3 separate regions of the Homo sapiens genome follow, and all the other regions are linked to region 3. Evidence: promoter capture Hi-C in human tissues and cell types (Jung and others, 2019). All regions are on one chromosome and are shown on one strand. The core of a region is centred on a gene start or on the middle of the fragment in contact, and the rest is flanking DNA. Distances in the headings are between cores, read along the strand shown. Region 1 has its middle 520 kb from the start of TBX3. Region 2 has its middle 540 kb from the start of TBX3. Region 3 holds the start of TBX3 (T-box transcription factor 3).

Region 1 (3,009 bases), core at 256-2,755, 520 kb after region 3:
AGAGCAGATGAAAGTGAGGATTTGGCAAGGGTCAGGGTTGGGCCTGGGACAGGGAGTGGGAAAGGAGACTTTCCAGAGCTGCAAAAAGCAAGAGCAAGCAAGAAGGAGCCAGCCAGTTGCAGAAAGTGAGATCTGGAAAGAAAGTATGTTAAAAGGCAAAGGAACTCACGAAAGAACTGGTTGTTGATGAAGTCGATGTTACACGCAGCCTTGCCATCTTGTAAAAAGGGTTTTATTTGTCCTTTTTTGTGAGAGTCCTGGGAGAGAACCATTAAAGAAACAGACCCCGGGCAGTCAGCGCAGATCTGGATACATGTGTGTGCCTGTATGTGGGCTTGCCTGGCCCCCCTCTGGCACCCACCCCCACTTTTTACAAGGGCCAACTGGGTTGCAAGGTTAAAGCCAGAGGGGACCAATTGGTGTTGTGGGGCTTTTTTACAAAGTGCAAAGGATCAAAGTAATTAGCAAAGGGCGAGAGACCAGGCCTGTTAGAGAAAGAAGCCAGCCACCCAATGCTTTCTGCACACACGTCTTGTCTTCCCCAGGCCTGCTGTTAATGCCTGCACGGATCATGGCTGAATGGCACATGGCAGCGTGCAGAGTGCTGGAGGGGGCTCCTTTGCTCTCAGGCAGGAAGTAAACCTGGAAGGGCCAACTCTGAGCTTAGAGAGTTTTGTGGGATCTTCAGGCAGCCCAGAAGGAAGAAGAGAACTTCTTGGGGAGTCTTTCTGAGACATTTCATTGCTTCCTTCCTGTTTTAGATGGAGGCTCAATGCCTGGCCAGACCCAGACCTGGAGACCAGGATAAGGAAATAATGCCTTCCACTGAGGCCATCTAAAGCTTATCAGCTGTGATTATGGCAGGGCAAGATGTAAGAGAGAGCAAGGAATTTTCCAGGAATGATTTTAGGTGGTTCATAGACAGGACTTTAAATTATATAGAGTCATTCAGTGAGCTGATTGTTTGCTTTCTTTCTCCCTCCACCTCCCCTCTTCTCTCTTTGTAATTCTACCAAGGCCATCTCAGTTTGCTGCTAATGTGCTGTGGCAGGCAGATTAACAGCCCCCAAAGATACTCACACCTGTGAAGATATTCCATACCTGGCAAAGGGGCTTTGCAGGTGTGAGTAAGGTCAAGGCCCTAGGTGAGGGAGATTAAACCAGATTATCCATGTGAGACCAATGTAGTCACGTGAGAACCTCTCCTTGCTGCAGAGAACCAGAAAGATGGCAGCATGACAAGGACTGAAGGATCTATTGCTGGTTCTGAGAGGTGGGGGGCCCTGCATGAAGACCAGAGAGAGGCCTCCTGGAGGTAAGAGCGCCCCCCAGCTGACAACCAGCAAGGGAATGGAGACCTCAGCTCTGTAACCCAAGGGCCTTCAGAAGTGAACAGAGACCAGCCGTGCCGAAACTTCTGACCTACGGGTCTGTAATATAATATTTCGTTTTCAATGGCTAAATTTGTGGTAGTTAATGCTTACTCCCTCCTTTGCCAGAGAGAGAGAGAGAATATCCTCCTGAAAGTTTCAGGAAGGCCACAATACCAAGCTGAGATTACTAGTACCATTGTAAGGTTTTCATTACATTTATTGGTAGGTTTCATTTCTATTTGTGGTCAGTGGTAATGGTTTTCTATTTATGTTGGTGACTTCAGTTTTCTTCTTTTGGGGTGAATGTATTTTGGTAAAGAAAATAAGTTGGGTTTAAAGAAAAAATGTTAGTAAGTAGTCATGCAGATTTTATGAATTGATAAATGGTATTTAAATACCTAAAATTTAGGAAATACTGATCTAGAGTTTTCTGGAGGGCCCCTTTGGAATTCAGAAAATGGGACAGACAGCTCTGCATATGATTTGCATGTATTTGCATTCATCATATTGAGCCTTACACACCAGGGTGAGGGAGAGGCAGGGCCAGATGGCCTAGGTGCTCTGTCACTGGCTGTGATGAGGAATCACTAATTTCTCAGCTGGCCTTTGGTATTGGACCAATTGCATAAAACAGGAAGAAAAAAGTATTCATGGCAGCCAAACAGGTAAGGCTTTGTACCATAGAGAATAACAACCAGACTTCGGAACCAAACAGAATTGCCTTTGAATCCTGGCTCTTCTCCTTAAAACTGTGTGATTTGGGACAAAGAGTTTGACCTCTGTGAGCCTCAGTTTCCTTATCTGTAAAAAGGAAACTAATAAGAAAGGCTGCACTGGGATGAAGTGAAGATTAAACAGGGTCCTATTTGTAAAGAGTGCAGCCCTGTTCCTAACGCGCAGTAAACAATGCAATTCGTTACTGTTATTATTATTCTCAGCTGCCCAGCGGTGGTCAGCCCATTCGTTTATTGCTTGTGGTGTCTGCCTCCAGCATTGGAGGACTGCCCTGTGGGGCGTTCTGGGCAAGACTGGGACAGACAGTGTCCAGGCACACCAGGCCTGGGCTGGTCTCTGTCATGCTGACATGCAGAGGAAAGCAGAAAGAAAGGAATCCCACAGAGCTGTGCGTAGCTGGGTGGCCAAGCCTGCCTGCAGACCTTCTTTCTTCCCTATGTAGAGGCTCTGGCCCATTTCAAGAATGGAAACTGAAGAGAGAGCATGCCTTGGCTGGGAACAGAGCGACGGCAAGCTTCCCAGCCCTGACCAGGGACATAGCATATTGAGGCACCCGTGCCTGGAGTTAACAAGAGAGCAAAAGAAGGCGGACAAAGGAAGGGACTCTTTCTATCTCTGTTGCATCACCTGTGCTTAAAAGTGGGGCTTTAGGGATCAGACAGACTTGGGTTGCCTCTGCCAGTTACTTCTGTGTGGCTTTGAACAAGTGACTTCCCCTTTCTGATAATAACATAGCTAACATTTGTTAAGCCCTGACTTTGTGCCAGCCTCTATTCTAAACACTACACAAGTATTAGATAACCTCCACGGCAACCCTAGGAGAAAGACATGCTTATTATTTCCATTTTACAGATGAAAAGATTGAGGCACAGAGAGGTTATTCAACTAGCTCAAAGTCACG
Region 2 (2,983 bases), core at 181-2,680, 540 kb after region 3:
TGTTAGCTAACTCGACCAAGGTCACACAGCTTGAATTTAGAACATGTTTGAACTGACCAACTTCAACCTTAATGCATGATTTTTATTGCACTGAGCCACTTGCTCATGGTTTGACCCAGAAGAGAAAATACCAACCAAATATTAGAGATGACATTTTACCAACTGCTAGGACTAAGAGGTGATGAGAAAGAGCCCAGTGACCAAGGTGTGGGTGTATCCAGGAAAAGAAATAAACCTGTATGATCAAGGCGCCAGAATAGCTATCTTTATAGGTTATTTGATTGTAAGCAACAGAAACCTATTCTGGCTAACATAAGCCCAAAACGCTAGTATTGGAAGAATTGGAAGAAGTAGCTCACAAAATAGAAGAACCAGACGTCAGAGGGGTCAGGGAGCTGGTTGGACTTGGGATCTAAGTAGCAGTAAGTAATGTGATCAACCTGAATCACATGACAGCCTCTTAGCTCTAGGCAGTCAGGGTTTGAGTGACTGTCCCACGCAGACTGCATGTAACAACAGTGGGTGGGAACAAGTTTCAAAAAGGGAAATGAGCATGCTAAGACCAGAAAGAAAAGAAATAGATATTAGGTTGGCCAAAACAGCTGATGCCCTTTGCAGTGACAGTGTCAGCTAATTTTAGCAATATATATCATCTGCTGGGTTTTCTATGTGTTAGGCAGCATTGCTCTGTACAGTTTTGCAGATTGCATCCTGCCCAAGACCAGCTTGCTAAGGAGGCACAGAGGTGCTAAATCCCGGGCCAATCACTGCTTGCCAAATAGCTGTATTAACCCAGAGGAAGGGACGTCTTTCCTAACGTGCAGAAAAACACCAGGTATAAATCATCCTATTTAGTCCTCTCAACAATGCTGAAAGGTAGGTGTGGTAGATTAAAAATGGTCACAAATTCTTTGCTTCTCTTCCTGTTGAGGAGATAGCTAAATCCTTGGGGAATGGAGCTCATGCTACATGCATTGTTGAGAAGCAGAGACTAAACACCCTCCCCCCTGAATCTGGACTGGCCTTAACAACTCACTTGACCAACAGAATATGGTGGAACTAATGGCTGGAACTTCCAAAGCTAGGTCATAAGAAACCTTACTGCTTTTTTTCCCCTGGGTTTTCTGGTGCTATGAGACACCATGTATAAAGTTCAACTACTGTATTCTATTGATCCGTCACAGAGCTCAGATTTAAGAAGTCATAAACACATCACCTGTTAACCTAAGAGTGTCCAAACAATTTATGACCACCTTCAATCTACCAAATCGTTGGTTGAACTCATTCAACAAGCATTTGTTTGTTGAGCATCTGCTTTATACCAGACACTAACTTAGGCCCTGGGAATACAGTGGTGAACAAAACAGAAAAGTGATATGCTTCCATGGAACCCGTATTCTAGTGGGAGGCTGCATTCTAGCTTGAACAGATGGATCAATGAACTGGAAAGGAAAATGAAGAATGTCTATCTGGTCTCCAACTTTTGACCTGCTACATGTGTCCTATAAAATAATCTCACGATGTCACAAGATCCAATTTGCTCTTTCCAAGCCAATTTTCCACTCATTGATCATCTGCATTTAACTTTGAGGCAACAGCTGAGAAATTCTGAAATAGTAAGAGGAAGATTCTCCCTCTTACTTTCCATGGGCTGTCTGGCATGTCATAGGGCTCAGGGACTAGGTGCTGCCTGAAACTCTTGTGGCCGAGTCAGGTCCCCCATTAGCTCTGAGTTCTGGAAATTGACCAGAATTTACAAAGAAGGAGGGCATGGGGAGAATGAGGAAGCTAGAGTTGCATCATCCTGACTCAGGTCAGCCAGTGTCCACCTTGGCAATTGGCTGCAAGCTTTGGGATTGGCATGAGAAGGTTACGTTGACTGGGCCATCTAACCAGCAGCCTGAGGGCTGGGCCTGAGCAGCACCGAGGAATTTCACACATGGCGGTGCCAGCCTGGGTTCTGTTCTGGAATAACACATGCAAGTGACAGGGAAAACTCGTGAGTCATTGAGCTAATCTCAGCTCTTTTAAACTGGGTGCCTGGAAGATGAGCAAAGTTCTGACTTCAGCACCATCAAAGAGGTTATATGGCAAAGTCAACAGTTTCAACAGGGAGGAAAAGGCTGAATCACCCAGGCCATTGCTTTCCCCTTGCCTGAGTCAGGAGTAAAGGATTAAGTATTCTATTTTAGGGAGTTCCTAAGTGCTCCTGAGGAGAGCTTCCAATAGAGGTGAGTAGGTTCCTATTAACTCTGCAACACACCTTTCAAGCTAGAATCCATTTATTTTACATTTCCATTATTGGGCAACCAAATGCTATTTATGAGCTCCAACTCTGAGTGTCCACAGATATAATTTATGTCAATCACCTAGATTTGTTTTTCTAAAAATGTGCTCTGTAGAACATTAATTTTCTGGCACTCCTGATAGGTGACTGGGCGAGGTAGGGGGTTAGTATGCAGAAAAAAAATTGATCATCAAATATGGGATATACTTGGGAAATACTTGGTTACATTTTCTTCAATAGATTTTTCTACTTTAGGACTTTTCAGAGCCTTTGGTATGCTAATGTACATTGCAAATCTTCAAAAAAGCTTTAGATCTTATTAACCCTTCCCGACTTGTTTTGTCCATGAACCCCAACTTTGGAGAGTAAAGAAATCGTTTTTCATGAAGACACTTTGAGAAATGTTGTCCTTGAATCGTTTAGAACAATTCTCTCAAATTGTGGGCATACAAATTAACCAGAGACCTTATTATTAAAAATGCACATTTCCATCTCAGACATTAAAATTGAGTAGGTCTTGGGTGAGGTCCAGAAATATTCATTTAATAAACATTTCAGGTGATTTTGAAGTGAGTGATCCATTGCACACACTTTGGAAACCACTGCTTTAGAGCTAGAGTTGGAAGGCAAGTAAATTTAATCCTTGATTTTAGAGATAAGGAAACTGAGGCACTGAAAGTGATTTTTCATACAGTG
Region 3 (2,862 bases), core at 304-2,803:
TGCAGATGCCCAGGTAAGCTGAAATTTCCTGCCACCGGGGCAGGGCCTGGAAGTCTGTGCATACATTTCTAGGGGAACTAACTTTTCGTCCAAGCCGTAATAACCGACCAACCGACTGTTCTGGGAGCAGAGAAATAAAGGGAGGAAAAAACTCTCCAACAGCTTAGGGGAGGAGGCCCCCACTGCTTACCTTCCCGACTTGGTAATGACCATCTCGGTGCCCCGCTTGTGAAACTGATCCCAAAGTTCTTTAGCCTCCAGGTGCACCTTGGGGTCGTCCTCCACCTCTTCTTCGGGCTCCATGGTCTTCAAAGGCCTCAGATGCGCCTGGGGCCCCAGGGAGGAGAACGGGATGCCGGTCTCGGCCGCCCCCACCAATTGATCCATGATCGGCTTGGCCAGGGCGCCCGGCAGCGAGAGCGCCGCCGCGCCGTTGGGAGGCAGCGTCAGCGCGGGGAAGAACGGCGGCTGGTGACCCAGCACCGCGCTCATGGCGAAGTCCGGCGCCCGGTGAGGTAGGAACGGATGGTAGGCCATGCTTGTCCCAGGAATGACCGGATCTCTCATGGAGAGGCTCATCCACTCCAGGCGGGGCGCTGGGCTCCAGCCGGGGACAAGTCCGCAGCTGCTGTGTTTTGTTGTTTTTTTGTTGTTGTTTAACAGCAGCACATAATTCAAAAGGGGGGAAAAAGCAAAACAAAAAAGAAAGAAAAAAGAAAAGGAGGCAGAAATCACAACTAATGCACTTCAAAGGGAGGAGGGGAAGTGTCTTTTGGAGAATGGGAGGCCGCTTTTAAAGAGGGCAAGGCGAAAAATCAGCAAACATAGTCGCGCGGGTGACCGTCCTTGTGCCTTGCGTTTTTAAAAAGCCGCTCCTGAACGTCGGTTTCAGAAGCGAGAGGAGCGAGCAGGGTCTCGACTCGCGCCCGAGCCCTGCCGCTGAGCTCGAAATAGACACTCCAGCCCTGCGTCCCAGGAATCTCTCTCCAGCCCCTAGGTCTTTTGTTGCAAATGTGAAAGGTTCTCCTAGAAGACTTTTTACCTTTCTTTTTCTTCTTCCCCCGCCCCCTATCTGTCTTCCTCTCCCTCTTTCTCGCTGGTGGCGTCTGCAGCTGTGCTAGACCCGGCTTTAACAGGGAGCGAGAGAGCGGAAAAAGTCTCTCTCCTTTAAAAAAAAAAAAATCTGATTTAAACCCCCTTCTACCAGCGCTATCAAAACTTGAATTGCAAACTGGCTTCCGTTCGCCGCCCTCCTCCTCCTTCCTCTGCTCCGAGCCTCCGGAGGGTGTCTCGGTTTCAATCCAAATCTTGCTGGGCTCTTCTCCCGTGCCTCTCTCTCTTCCTTGTCCTAAAACGTGAGCGAATTCGCTTCCTAAATCTGTGTCCAGGCGCGCAGGGCAGGGAGGATTTAGAGGGGGAAAAAATGGAACAGAGGGAAAGAGAGGGAGGGGAGAGAGAGAGAGAGAGAGAGAGACGGAGTCGGAGAGGGAGGGAGCGAGAGAAAGCGAGAGCTCCTCGCCACCCTCCGCCGCCTCTAGAATTCACCGGGCGTCTGCTCGGCGGCTCTAGAAGGTCGGGCTGCGCTGTGGGCTGCGGGGAGCCGGAGGCCTCTTGATTGGCTCTTTGACGCTTTCGGACCAATTGTGTTGCTGCATAGGCGTGGTTTTCACAGGTCGAGTGCTGGGGGATAGAGCTGAGTTATAAAAAGAAGGTGTCGGAAACTGTAACGTCGCAGCGCCGCATCGGTACTACTGCCTGTCCTGTGAATATGTCAACATGATCAGAGGGCGGGCGGGAGCCACTGGGGAGCGCGCGCGCACAGAGTCGCCTCTAGGTGGCTTATCGAGAGATCGCTGCAGCCCCTGAGCTCGCTCGCTCGCTCTGGTTCAGCCCACGTCTGAAATGCCTCAGTCATCCAGCCGGGGATCGAGGGAGGAGGCAGGGCCAAGGAGGAAGGGGGAGGGAGAGAGGGAGGGAGCCAGCGAGCAGGCGAGCCGGGCGGGGAAGGCGGAGAGCGCGCCCGGGCGCCGGGCAGGGGCGCTCGCCTCTCTTGCACTCCGCTCGCCTCTCCGACCGCCGCGGCCGGTTCTCTCTCCAGCTCTCCTTCTTCTCCCCGCCCCGGGCGAGCCGGGCGGGTGGCCGAGCCTCCCCGCGAGCTGCCATCCGGCCACTCGGTTCTACAAAAGCCGGCGGCAGCCGAGAAGCGAGCGCCGAGACTCCAGGCTTGCGTGCTCTCCAGCCCCACGTGGAGCCAAGCTCCGCCCGGCCGCCGCTGAAGGGCTCCCGAGCTCGGGTGTCTCGGTGCTGGTCTCCCCTGCGTCTGGGCTGGGGGAGCACAAGGATGCGGCCATATCTCAGCACACGCATGTGTGGGCTTCCTCTCCACTGCGCCCCACCCGCAGCCATGTGCGGGTACCCAAACACCCCCGGTGTATCTGTACTCGAACACGCGCCAACACACTGGGACTGAAACACACACCGAAAAACACGTACACACAAACACGTACACAGCCTGCGCGGCTGGCCCTGCCTGAGCTCCTGGGGAAGATGGATTTGGGATTTTTATGAAATGCATTTACCAGCCCTTTTGGATCTCGTCTTTCATTTGCATGCGGGCCCCCATATTCCACCTGGATGTGGGTGTGGGTGTAGAGAAGAGAATGGAGGATCTGGACAAAGCGAGCACAGCGAGAGACTGGGTTCTGAGCCTGTCCCCTCCAAGCCGCTGCCCTCACCTCGAGGCCCGGCTGGGTGCACAGCACAGGGTAAGGGGTGGGCGATTGGGTTGGGGGAGGCGCGCCAGCCTGGTATCTTCTCTAGGCATCGCACTTATCTCTCGGTGCCTCAGTTCTTTCTCCACCC

The links. Contacts are between HindIII fragments. The study calls those that stand out against the background at their distance.
Region 1: a fragment that was not itself captured here is called in contact with the fragment with the promoter of TBX3 in region 3 in 2 of the 25 tissues and cell types used here (aorta and bladder).
Region 2: a fragment that was not itself captured here is called in contact with the fragment with the promoter of TBX3 in region 3 in 3 of the 25 tissues and cell types used here (aorta, mesendoderm cells and thymus).

What each region holds. Positions count from the first base shown.
Region 1 is chr12:115,206,949-115,209,957 of GRCh38, forward strand. No RefSeq gene overlaps it. Among named protein-coding and RNA genes, the nearest start is that of TBX3, 520 kb to the left of the region's middle. The HindIII fragment of the contact is 4,919 bases long and covers 1-3,009 here.
Region 2 is chr12:115,225,394-115,228,376 of GRCh38, forward strand. No RefSeq gene overlaps it. Among named protein-coding and RNA genes, the nearest start is that of TBX3, 540 kb to the left of the region's middle. The HindIII fragment of the contact is 3,416 bases long and covers 1-2,983 here.
Region 3 is chr12:114,682,622-114,685,483 of GRCh38, forward strand. TBX3 (T-box transcription factor 3) reads right to left here and starts at 1,554. Exons shown (of 7, transcript NM_005996.4): 1 at 191-1,554. The coding sequence starts at 579. It overlaps TBX3-AS1 (TBX3 antisense RNA 1), which reads left to right. Exons shown (of 2, transcript NR_187552.1): 1 at 1-13. RefSeq lists a promoter at 1,556-2,065. The HindIII fragment of the contact is 7,860 bases long and covers 1-2,862 here.